Regions from separate parts of the Homo sapiens genome. Here region 1 is linked to region 2. Evidence: promoter capture Hi-C in human tissues and cell types (Jung and others, 2019). All regions are on one chromosome and are shown on one strand. The core of a region is centred on a gene start or on the middle of the fragment in contact, and the rest is flanking DNA. Distances in the headings are between cores, read along the strand shown.

Region 1 (5,757 bases), core at 2,224-4,723, 500 kb before region 2:
TTTTGAGACAAGGTCTTGCTGTGTCACCCAGGCTGGAGTGCAGTGGCACGATCACAGCTCACTGCAGCCTTGACCTCCCAGGCTCAAGCGGTCCTCCTGCCTCAGCCTCTCAGTAGCTGGTACTACAGGCACACACCACAGCATCTGGGTAATTTTTTTATTTTTTGGGTAAAAACAGGGTCTTGCTATGTTGCCCAGGCAGATCTTGAACTCCTGGCCTCAAGTGATCCTTCCACCTCGGCCTCCTGAAGCGCTGGGAGTCTAGGTGTGAGCCATCACGTGCAGCCCATCTTCTCGATAGAACCCTTTAGTTTAGTTTAGTTTAGTTTTGTTTGAGATGGAGTTTTGCTCTTGTTGCCCAGGCTGAAGTGTAATGGCACGATCTCAGCTCACCACAACTTCCGCCTCCCAGGTTCAAGCAATTCTCCTACCTCAGCCTCCCGAGTAGCTGGGATTACAGGCATGTGTCACCACACCTGGCTAATTTTTTGTATTTTTAGTAGACGGGGTTTCTCCATGTTGGTCAGGTTGGTCTTGAACCCCCGACCTCAGATGATCCGCCCACCTTGGCCTCCCAAAGTGCTGGGATTACAGGTGTGAGTTTTACAAGAAAACATTTAAGTATGAAAGCAGTACCTCCGGAATATGCACGGCCCTCCAAACCCAGCCTCTGAAGACTCTTCACTTGTCCTGGCTGGGCCACCACCTCAGCTCCACCTAAAACTGGGCTGTGTTCTCTTCCCCCCTCCATCCCTGCCTTTTTTTTTTTTTTTTTTTTTTTGAGACAGAGTCTTGTTTTGTTGCCCAGGCTGGAGTGCAGTGGTGCAAACATGGCTCACTGCAGCCTTGATCTCTTGGGCTCAAAGGATCCTCCCACCTCAGCCTCCTGAGTAGCTGGGACTATAGGTGCATGCCACCATGCCCAACTAATTTTTTTTTTTTTTTTTGAGATGGAGTTTCGCTCTTGTTGCCCAGGCTGGGGTGCAATGGTGCAATCTCGGCTCACTGCAACCTCTGCCTCCTGGGTTCAAGCAATTCTCCTGCCTCAACCCCCCAAGTAGCTGGGATTTCAGGCATGTGCCATCACACCTGGCTAATTTTGTATTGTTAGTAGAGATGGGGTTTCACTATGTCAGTCAGGCTGTTCTCAAACTCCTGACCTCAGGAGATCCTCCTGCCTCGGCCTCCCAGAGGGCTGGGATTACAGGTGTGAGCCACTGTGCCTGGCCTGCCAATTTTTTTTTTTTTTTTTTTTGGAGACAAAGTCTCGCTCTTTCCCAGGCTGGAGTGGAATGGCACCACCTCGGCTCACTGCAACCTCTGCCTTTCGGGTTCAAGCGATTCTCCTGCCTCAGTCTCCCAAGTAGCTAGGACTACAGGCATGTGCCACCACGCCCGGCTAATTTTTGTATTTTTAGTAGAGACGAGTTTTCACCATGTTGGCCAGACTGGTCTTGAACTCCTAACTTCAGGTGATCCACCCGCCTCTGCCTCCCAAAGTGCTGGGATTACAGGCATGAGCCACCACACCTGGCCTCTGCCCAACTAATTAAAAAAAAATTTTTGTAGAGACAGGATCTCACTATGTTGTCCAGACTGGTCTTGAACTCCTGGGCTTAAGGGATCGTCCTGTCTCAGCCTCCCAGAGTGCTGGGATCACAGGCATGAGCCACCACACTCATCCTTGTCTTCTGGTCAGGGAAGACTAACTCCTCTTACCTTGACTATTTCCCCAGGGCCCCAGACACACATCGCCACGCAGGACCTGGGTGGGGAGTACGGAATTTATTTTATTGTTCTGCGTCTGGGTTTGGTTCCTTGGACGTCACGGTTCCTGGATGGGGGTGGGTGGGTCCCACCTCCCTAAGTCATGGTCCCACGGGCCTGTTGGGATTGTTTTCCAGGTTCAAAGTGCACTGAGAAAGCTTCACAGTTTTAATACTTCCTAGATGCTCAACTGAGGCAAAGTGACAAAATGGCCCTCCCACCCCCGCCCGCCACAAAAATAAAATCCCAAGCCCCTGGCAGCTGCTGCTGCAGCCGTATGAAAAAATAATACAAACTCTTCTTAAAAAATAGATTACACAGAAAAAACGCAGAGGACAGAGGGGCATGAGGAGGGGCAGGGAGCCTTGGGGGAGAGGCCCGGGAAGGGGCTCTGAGATGACTGCAGGGGCTGAGCTGCTGGTGGACACCTGCCCGGTCCACTGTGCCTATCCTCTCACTGCCGGAGCCGGCTCCTCCCCATCGCCGGCCAGGGCACCGCAGCTCCACGCTCCCTCAAGGGACCCCCTTCACCCTGAGGCTTGGTACCTGCTTCTCACTAAAGTGGCTTTAAGAAAGAAACAAAAAAAAGACCCAAAGCGAGAGAAGGGGCTGTTTGCTCAGCCACTGGGGACCTCCGCCCCATGGGATCAGCCCTCTCTCTGCTTTGGGGGTTTGGAGAGTCCTCGATACCTGTTGCTACCTAGACACCCCCTGGGGGGAAAACGGGCCCCAGACTCCCCATTTGGTTCCTGGGAACACAGACACCTGGAACTTGGCCTCTGCCCTGATGTGCGCCCTCCCACGCACCCAAGCGTTATATGGGGCATGGTTCGGAGGCTGCCTCCTGGCCCAGCCTCCAGGGAGCTATGGACCAGACAGGTGGAGCGTGAACAGGGTTGCTGGGGCAGCGGCGTGTGGAAAGGGGCGTAACTCACACAGGCCCTCCAGCTCATGCAAGGAGAAGCAAGAGGGGACAGCCCTGCCAAGACAGAGGTTACAGCAGGGCGAGAGCATGGTGTGTGTGTGCAGCTGGGCCGGCTCTGGGCCACGGCAGAGAGAAGGCAGGGGAAGCGGTCCACGGGGTGGGAGAAGGCAAGTCAGGGCCTGGCTCTGAGGAGAAGCCTGGGTCCCCACTGTCCCAGCTGAGGGCCACCTCCCGCGGAGGAATCTGGTGGGGGTGGATTCTCCAGAGGTGGGGACAGGGGCAGCTGAGTGGCCCTGGCTCAGTCGGGGACCTCAGGGTGGGCAGGCAGTCCGCTCTCGCCGCGCCGGTAGGTCTCCCAGAAACCTCTGTCCAGCTGCTCCAGCTGTGGGCCCAGTGGCAGGTGGCCGGCCAGGTGCATGCGGAGGGTCTCCAGCCAGTGTTCCAGCTTCACAAAGGATGGCCTGGGTGACAGGTGGGTGGGGAACGGTGGGTCTGGCTGTCCCGGGAATCGGCCCCACCGTCTCCCAGGCCAGGGCCCCACCCCACTCACCTCTTCTCGGGGTCCAGATCGCAACAGCGCACGGTGATGGGGAAGAAGCTCGGGGGGCAGTTTGGGGGGCAGTAGCGGTCCAGGAATCCTCGCACGTTGAGGCCAAAGTCCATGGTGCGGGGCAGGTAGTCAGGGTCTGCGTTCACCCGCCCGATGATCTGTCCAGTACAAGGCCCGGCAGTTACTCCAGGGGGCCCTCAGCCTGGGCATCTGGGTGCCATCCAGGTGGTTTGAGGGCAGGTGGCACTGGGCCTGGCTGCAGCCTGACTGCAGTACCCCATGGGGGCCAGCCCATGCCTTGCTGTGGGCAGGCTTCCTGGCATGAGGCCCCTGCAGATGCTGAGCCTGCAGCCTGGGTGAGTGGGGAGGAGCCCAGGCCTCAACACCGCTGCTACCCAACCCTGGACCTACCTCGCACAGGACGATCCCAAAGGAGAACACATCCACCTTCTCATCATAGCTGCGGCCTGGATAAAGAGACCGACTGTCAGCAGATGAACACATGGGGGTGCCAGGGATGCCAAAAGGCAGGGGACCAGGCCAGCTGGGAGGATGCCCCGGCCGGGAGGTCCAGGCCCAGGAGGCAGATGCCGGCAACCTCTATGGGAACCCAGGCTTAGGCTCTTTCCCCCAACCCCACCAGGTCTGAGCAAGCCTTTGGGAGCTCTGAGGAGCAAGGGGCAGAGCCCTGGACAAGGAGTTCGAGGCACCGATCAGCTGCGTGACTTTGCACAAGTCATGAACTCTGTGCTGGTCCCAAAAGGGAACCATGTCAGGTCTCTGGAATCTGTGAATGTTACTGGGTCAGAAAAAGGGTCTTTTGCAGATGGGATTAAGTTAAGGATCTGGAGATGAGATGATGCTGGATGATCTGGGTGGGCCCCAAATGCCACTGCAAATGCCCTCTTGAGAGAGACACAGAGAAGACACAGCAGAAGAGGAGGAGGTGGCCCTGTGAAGACAGGGGTGGAGACTGGAGTGATGCGGCCACAAGCCCAGGAATGCAAAACAACCAGAAGGTGGAAGAGGCAAGGAATGCATTCTCCCCTAGATCGCCCTGGAGGGAGCGCAGCCCTGTTGGATTTCAACCTTCTGGCTTCCAAAACTAAGAGGGAATAAATTTCTGCTGTTTATTTTATCTTGAGATGGAGTCTTGCTTTGTTGTCCAGGCAAGAGTGCAGTGGTACGATTGTGGCTCACTGCAACCTCTGCCTCCTGGGTTCAAGCGATTCTCCTGCCTCAATTTCCCGAGTAGCTGGGATTACAGGCGCCTGCCACCATGCCCAGCTAATTTTTGTACTTTTAGTAGAGATGGTGTTTCACCATGTTGGCCAGGCTGGTCTCGAACTCCTGACCTCCAGTGATCTGCCCGCCTCGGCCTCCCAAAGTGCTGGGATTACAGGTGTGAGCCACTGTGCCTGACCATTTTCTGCTGTTTTAAATAATCAAGTTTCTAACAATTTATTACAGCAACCTCAGGAAACTGACACAGACTCTCTGAGCCTCAGTTTCCTTATTGTAAAATGGGAATGATACCAGCTACTTAATGATGTTAAAAATAATCGGTACATGGCCGGGCACAGTGGTTCACACCTGTAATCCCAGCACTTTGGGAGGCCGAGGCGGGTGGATCACCTGAGGTCAGGAGTTCAAGATCAGCCTGGCCAACATGGTGAAACCCCATCTCTACTAAAAATAGAAAAATTAGCCAGGCATGGTGGCAGGTGCCTGTAATCCCAGCTACTAGGGAAACTGAGGCAGGAGAATCACTTGAACCCAGGAGGTGGAGGTTGCAGTGAGCCGAGATCACGCCACTGTACTCCAGCCTGGGTGACAATGCAAGACTCCATCTCAAAAACAAAAAACTGGCCGGGCACGGTGGCTCACACCTGTAATCCCAGCACTTTGGGAGGCTGAGGCGGGTGGATCACGAGGTCAGGAGATCGAGATCATGGTGAAACCCCGTCTCTACTAAAAATACAAAAAATTAGCCAGGCGTGGTGGCGGGCGCCTGTAGTCCCAGCTACGTGGGAGGCTGAGGCAGGAGAATGGTGTGAACCCGGGAGGCGGAGCTTGCAGTGAGCCGAGATCGCACCATGCATTCTAGCCTGGATGACAGAGCAAGACTCGGTCTCAGAAAAAACAAAAAACAAAAAACAAAAAACAAAATACCCGAAACAATTAGTACTAAATGTCAATTCTCATTTACTGAATGCCAACTAGGTGGAAATGAGTTTACAACCTTTAATCCTCACACTAATCCCTAAACATAGGAAACACTAAGACTTTTTTGTTTTTTGAGACAGAGTCTTGCTCTGTCGCCCACTGCAACCTCTGCCTCCTGGGTTCAAGCAACTCTCCTGCCTCTGCCTCCTGGGTTCAAGCAACTCTCCTGCCTCAGCCTCCTGAGTAGCTGGGATTACGGGCGCCCGAAACCATGTCCAGCTAATTTTTGTATTTTTAGTAGAGATGGGGTTTCACTGTGTTGGCCAGGCTGGTCTCAAACTCCTGACCT
Region 2 (5,649 bases), core at 1,021-3,520:
CATGTGCCTACAACTCTTTCCTGTCCCCACCCACTAGGGACATCCTTGGGGGAAATCTGGAAATCTACTAGACCAGGCTTTGCTGCTGCCCCTCAGAGATGCTTGGGTGTGTTTTTGCTCTCCTGTGCCTCTGAACCCATCTTTGAGGCTGTTAGTTAAACGCTCCAGTGAGGTGTCAGGTGTGAATGCCTCAGTCTGGTTTCTGTCCTCAAGGTGAGAAAAGAGGCTTCAGAAGCAGAAAGGCCATGTACAGTGGCTCACACTTGTAATCCCAAAACTTTGGGAGGCTGAAGCAGATTTCATCTCTACAAAAAAAAAAAAATTAGCCAGGTTTGGTGGCATGAGCCTGTAGTCCCAGCTACTAGGGAGGCTGAGGTGGGAGGATCGCTTTGGCCCAGGAGTTTGAGGCTGCAGTGAGCTATGACCGTGCCTCTGCACTCCAGCCTGGGTGACAGAGCGAGACCCTGTCTCTAAAAATATATAAATAGGCTGGGCACGGTGGCGCATGCCTGGAATCCCAGCACTTTGAGAGGCTGAGGTGGGCAAATCGCTTTAAGGTCAGGAGTTTGAGACCAGCCTGGCCAGCATGGAGAAACCTCGTCTCTACTAAAAATACAAAAATTAGCTGGGCATGGTGGCGGGCACTTGTAATCCCGGCTACTCAGGAGGCTAAGGCAGGAGAATCGCTTGAACCAGGGAGGCAGAGGTTGCAGTGAGCCGAGATCGTGCCATTGCACTCCAGCCTGGGTGACAGAGTGAGCCTCCGTCTCAAAACAATAAATAAATAGAAGTATATAGATAAATAAAAATACAAAGAAGCAGGAACAAAAGCTGGACCTCAGTGTCAGTGAGAGAAGGGGCTCAGAGCTCCTGGGTAGATGCCTGCCTAGGGGATGTCCACCTTCCAGTGAGCCACCCATCCCTACCAGTAACAGTCCCTCGAGGCTCCCCTTGGGCCTCTCTGTGCAGGTGAAGTAATGATCACAATTTTTTTAATATATATTTTTTCTTAAGTATTTTATTTTGTTTTTGAAACAGGATTTCACTGTTGCCCAGGGTGGAGTGCAGTAGGGCGCGATCTCGGCTCACTGCAACCTCCACCTCTTGGGCTCATGTGATTCTTCCACCTCAGCCTCCCGAGTAGCTGGGATTATAAGCCAAGCACGCATCGTCACATCCGGTAATTTTTGTATTTTTAGTAGAGAAGGGGTTTCTCCATGTTAGCCAGGCTGGTTTCGAACTCCTGGCCTCAAGTGACCCACCCACCATGGCCTCCCAAAGTGCTAGGATTGAAGGCGAGAGCCACCGCGCCCGGCCACCGTGTTGGCCACCATGTTAACTAGAGGTGTTAGCAACCTCCTGTGGGCCAGGCCCTTCAGGGGCATTACCTTGGGCTTACCACATCAGGCCCCTGAGAGTTGGGGGCTTCTACCTATGTGGAGGACCCAGAAGAGCTAATATGGGGGGCGGGGGTTGGAGGTGAAGGGCAGGAGTTAGGTGAGGGGAGATGGTGATCTCTGGCCTCACAGGAGGGTGCCCCTGAAAGAACAAACCCCAGGTCCTGAGGCGCTTTCAGGCTCAGGTGTGATAGGGGACCCTTTTGTTGTGGAGACAGGGTCTCACTCTGTCATCCAGGCTGGAGTGCAGTGGCGCGATCTCCGCTCACTGCAGCCTCAACCTCTTGGTCTCAAGCGATTCTCCCACTTCAGCCTTCGGAGTAGCTAGGACTACATGCACACGCCACCATGCCTGGATAATTTTTGTATGTTTGGTAGAGACAGGGTTTTGCCATATTGTCGAACTCCTGGGCTCAAGGAATCCTCCCACCTCAGCCTCCCCAGTAGCTGGTATTACAGGCTTTCTCCACTATGTCCGGCTAATTTTTGCATTTTTTTGGTAGAGATGGGGGTCTTGCCATATTGCTCAGGCTGGTCTCGAACTCCTGACCTCAAGCCATCCTCCCGCCTTGGCCTCCTAAAGTGCTAGGATTACAGGCAAGAGCCCCTGGCGTCCGGCCTGACCTTTCTTAATATCCCTTTGGAGCAAAGTAGGGGCGGCTCTATCAGGACTCCAAGGAAAGACGGGAAGGGAGATGGGGCCAACCCGCCAGAGCTCCAGAGCACCGGGTTCTCACCTGGCGTAAGGATTATGCTAATACAAGCCCCGCCCCGTCCCAGGCCCCGCCCACCCGATCGGCCTATGGTGTGGGGGCGGGGCTATGTTAATGAGGCCCGGCTGGCCAAGAGCTGTTCCCCGCGCTGCGCGGAGCAGGGACCAGGCGGTTGCGGCGGCGACAGCCATGGCCGGCGCGCTGGCAGGTCTGGCCGCGGGCTTGCAGGTCCCGCGGGTCGCGCCCAGCCCAGACTCGGACTCGGACACAGACTCGGAGGACCCGAGTCTCCGGCGCAGCGCGGGCGGCTTGCTCCGCTCGCAGGTCATCCACAGCGGTCACTTCATGGTGTCGTCGCCGCACAGCGACTCGCTGCCCCGGCGGCGCGACCAGGAGGGGTCCGTGGGGCCCTCCGACTTCGGGCCGCGCAGTATCGACCCCACACTCACACGCCTCTTCGAGTGCTTGAGCCTGGCCTACAGGTGAGGGCGGTTCCGGGCCCTGACGGCCTTGGCTTCCAGGTGGGGATGGGGGGGGGGTCCGGGGCAGGACTGCGCGCTGGGGCCCTCAACACCCCACCCGAGCCCGGTCCTGCGGCTCCCGGAGGCTCCGATCACGCCCTGGACACCCCCTTTCTCCCAGCCCCGAGGTCCTCCTACAGCGGCCCAGCCCGCTGGCCCCTGACGGACCCACGCATTTCTGATTCCCATTCCTCCCCCATTCCCTCTTCCCCGAAGCGCAGACCGCCTGCGCCCCACCTCTACCTGGACCTCTGGTCCCCTCTCTCTGGTCCCAGCCCCTCCGTCCCTACAAAAATGCCAGGCGCCCCTGGTCCCTAGGCCACCCGCGCCCATCCCCACTCTCCACTCTGGAGCCACTCCACCCGACCCCCTGCAGGCCTCGGCCTTCTCCCCAGCAGCCCCGGCCCAAGCCCGCCCTATTCCTGGACCCTGAGATACTCCCAGCGCCCCTGATTGTCCCAGTTCATAACCAAAGTGGACTGGAACTGGCCCACTCTCACGTCCACCTCCCCGCAATTGCTGAGACACCTCTTCTTGATCTGCTACATTAAGGGTGGCGGGAGGAGGATGTCCCAGAAATGTCCAAGAGGCGCAGCTCGCAGAGGTTACGCCGGTGCCCGGGAGGCCTGGGTTCGCCTACCCACGTCGCCACACTAGGCTGAGCGCCCGTCGCTGCCTGGGACCCCCGCTTAGTGCCACCGAGAGCGCACAGGCCGCGCCCCGCTGCCGCTCCACGCCCCGCGTCCCAGAGGAGGGCGCGAACCCGAGGCCTGGCCCAGTGCCCTGGAGCAAAGTTCCCCGGAGTTGAGGGGCCAGTATAAATTATCAACCGAAAACCCGTAGGGGAGAAAGGGGGATCGGCCGGCCTTGATCTTTTCTCTGTGCAAATATTCCTCTTCCTCCGCGGCGCCTCCTCCCCTTCTGAGAACCGCTGGCTACAGATCGGCACCTGCCGCCCTGCGGGGGAGCAGGAGCTGGGGTGGGGACTGTGAGGGGAGTGTTGCCTGCCCCCAACCGCAGCCGCCCAGCTGCGACCCCATTGGCTGGAGGCGGAGTAACCTTGGCCCACAAGCTCTGGCCCCTGGCCCAGGTCATGTTGCAACCCGATCGGCCAGGGCGTCGGACCCGTGTGGAAAGTTCAAATTCCCGTCCCTTCTCCCTCCCTCCCCAAATGTCACGCGACTGCCTGGGACAGGGCATCTAAGGTCCTGGTACACCGGATGCCGGCACTCCTCCTCCTAAGGGTCTCCCATTTCCCACCCAACCCCAACTTTGGCTGCTCATTATATACTACACATCACTCTATTTGGGAGGGGGCCTCACTTCCAACCCTGACGATGGGTGACCAAAGAGGAGAGGTTCTGGGGAGCTGGCAAGGTAAGGGACAGAGCGCACCCCCAAAATTGCCCCCCCACCCAGAGGCTGACTCAAGGCTGATGTAACCCCAGTCAGAGATAGCTGGGGTAGAGAGGACTGTGTTTTCTTCCCAAATACCCAAATATTAATAGTAAATCTCTGGCTGGGCACAGTGGCTCCTGCCTGTAAGCCCAGCACTTTAGGAGGCCAAGGTTCTCATCCAAGGATTGCTTGAGCCCAGGAGTTGGAGACCAGCCTGGGCAACATACTGAGAACCTGTCTCTACCAAAAAAAAAAAAATTTTTTTTTTTTTTTGAGACAGAGTTTTGCTCTTGTTGCCCAGGCTGGAGTGCAGTGGTGCCATCTCAGCTCACTGCAACCTCTGCCTTCCGGGTTCAAGAGAATCTCCTGCCTCAGCCTCCTGAGTAGCTGGGATTACAGGCGCCCACCACCTCCAGCTAATTTTTTGTATTTTTAGTAGAGACGAGATTTCACCATGTTGGCCAGGCTGGTCTCAAACTCCTGACCTCAGGTGATCCACCTGCCTTGGCCTCCCCAAGTGCTGGGATTACAGGCATGAGCCAACATGCCTGGCCAAAAAAAATTTTCTTTAATCAGCCAGGTGTGATGGCACATTCCTAGTACCAGCTACTGGGGAGTCTGAGGTGGGAGGATCACTTCAGCCCAGGAGGTTGAGGCTCCAGTAAGACATGATGGTGCCACTGCACTCCACCCTGGGTGATAGAGTGAGACCTTGTTGGAAGGAAGGGAGGGAGGGAGGGAGGGAGATGGGGGGAGGAAGGAAGGAAGGGAGGGAGGGAGATGGAAGGAGGGAGGGAGATAAAGGAGGGAGGGAGATGGAGAGAGGGAGATGGAGAGAGGGAGATGGAGGGAGGGAGGGAGATAGAGGGAAATGGAGGGAGGGAGATGGAGGAGGGAGGGAGAAGGAGGGAGGGAGGGAGATGGAGGGAGGGAGACGGAGGGAGATGGAGGGAGGGAGAGGGAAGGAGATGGAGGGAGGGAGGAAGGGAGAGAGGGAGGAAGGGAGGGAGGGAGGGAGATGGAGGGAGGGAGGGAGCTGGAGAGAGATGGAGGGAGGGAGGGAGATGGAGGGAGGGAGGGAGATGGAGGGAGATGGAGGGTTGGCTCGGTACCAGGAGAGCTTCTAGATTTCCCCATTTGGTAGTGGAAAAGCCCTGAGGCTTGAACTGGGACAGTGTTTTCATCCTCAAAGACCCCCAGTTCCAGGGGTCCCCTGGAGGGGAGCAGATTACAGGAGCTGAGTGTCCCAGGGGAGTGACTATATGGGAAGAGACAGTAAGGCAGAGAGTTCAGAAGGTGGTGGGAAGAACAGCGAGCTTGACCAGGGACCCACCTGAATCAGGGACCAGCCTGACCCAGAGACCAGCCTGCAGAGGCCTGGCAAGGTTTCACCCTCTGCAGGTTAGCGTGGGCAGAGGGAGGATCGAGGAGGCCGTCTTCCATGGCTCCGTGGGTGGAAGCCCCAGGGAGGTAGTTTCTGGAAGCTTCAAGGAAGCACTTGTTCATGGTCAGAGCTGGCTAGCTTTAGGAAGAGTGGCCTTGAGGGTGCAGGGGAGCAAACAGGACCTGGTTAGGGGGCAATCTAAAAGGAATTCCTGAAAGGTGGGAGGTGGGCAGCTG

What was found. Contacts are between HindIII fragments. The study calls those that stand out against the background at their distance.
Region 1: a fragment that was not itself captured here is called in contact with the fragment with the promoter of MLXIPL in region 2 in 1 of the 25 tissues and cell types used here (dorsolateral prefrontal cortex).

Annotation. Positions count from the first base shown.
Region 1 is chr7:74,118,535-74,124,291 of GRCh38, reverse strand. LIMK1 (LIM domain kinase 1) reads right to left here. Exons shown (of 16, transcript NM_002314.4): 14 at 3,654-3,709; 15 at 3,243-3,400; 16 at 1,767-3,153. The coding sequence ends at 2,991. Among named protein-coding and RNA genes, the nearest start is that of LIMK1, 38 kb to the right of the region's middle. The HindIII fragment of the contact is 7,492 bases long and covers 1-5,757 here.
Region 2 is chr7:73,621,143-73,626,791 of GRCh38, reverse strand. It overlaps MLXIPL (MLX interacting protein like), which reads left to right and starts at 2,270. Exons shown (of 17, transcript NM_032951.3): 1 at 2,270-2,592. The coding sequence starts at 2,300. The HindIII fragment of the contact is 21,137 bases long and covers 1-5,649 here.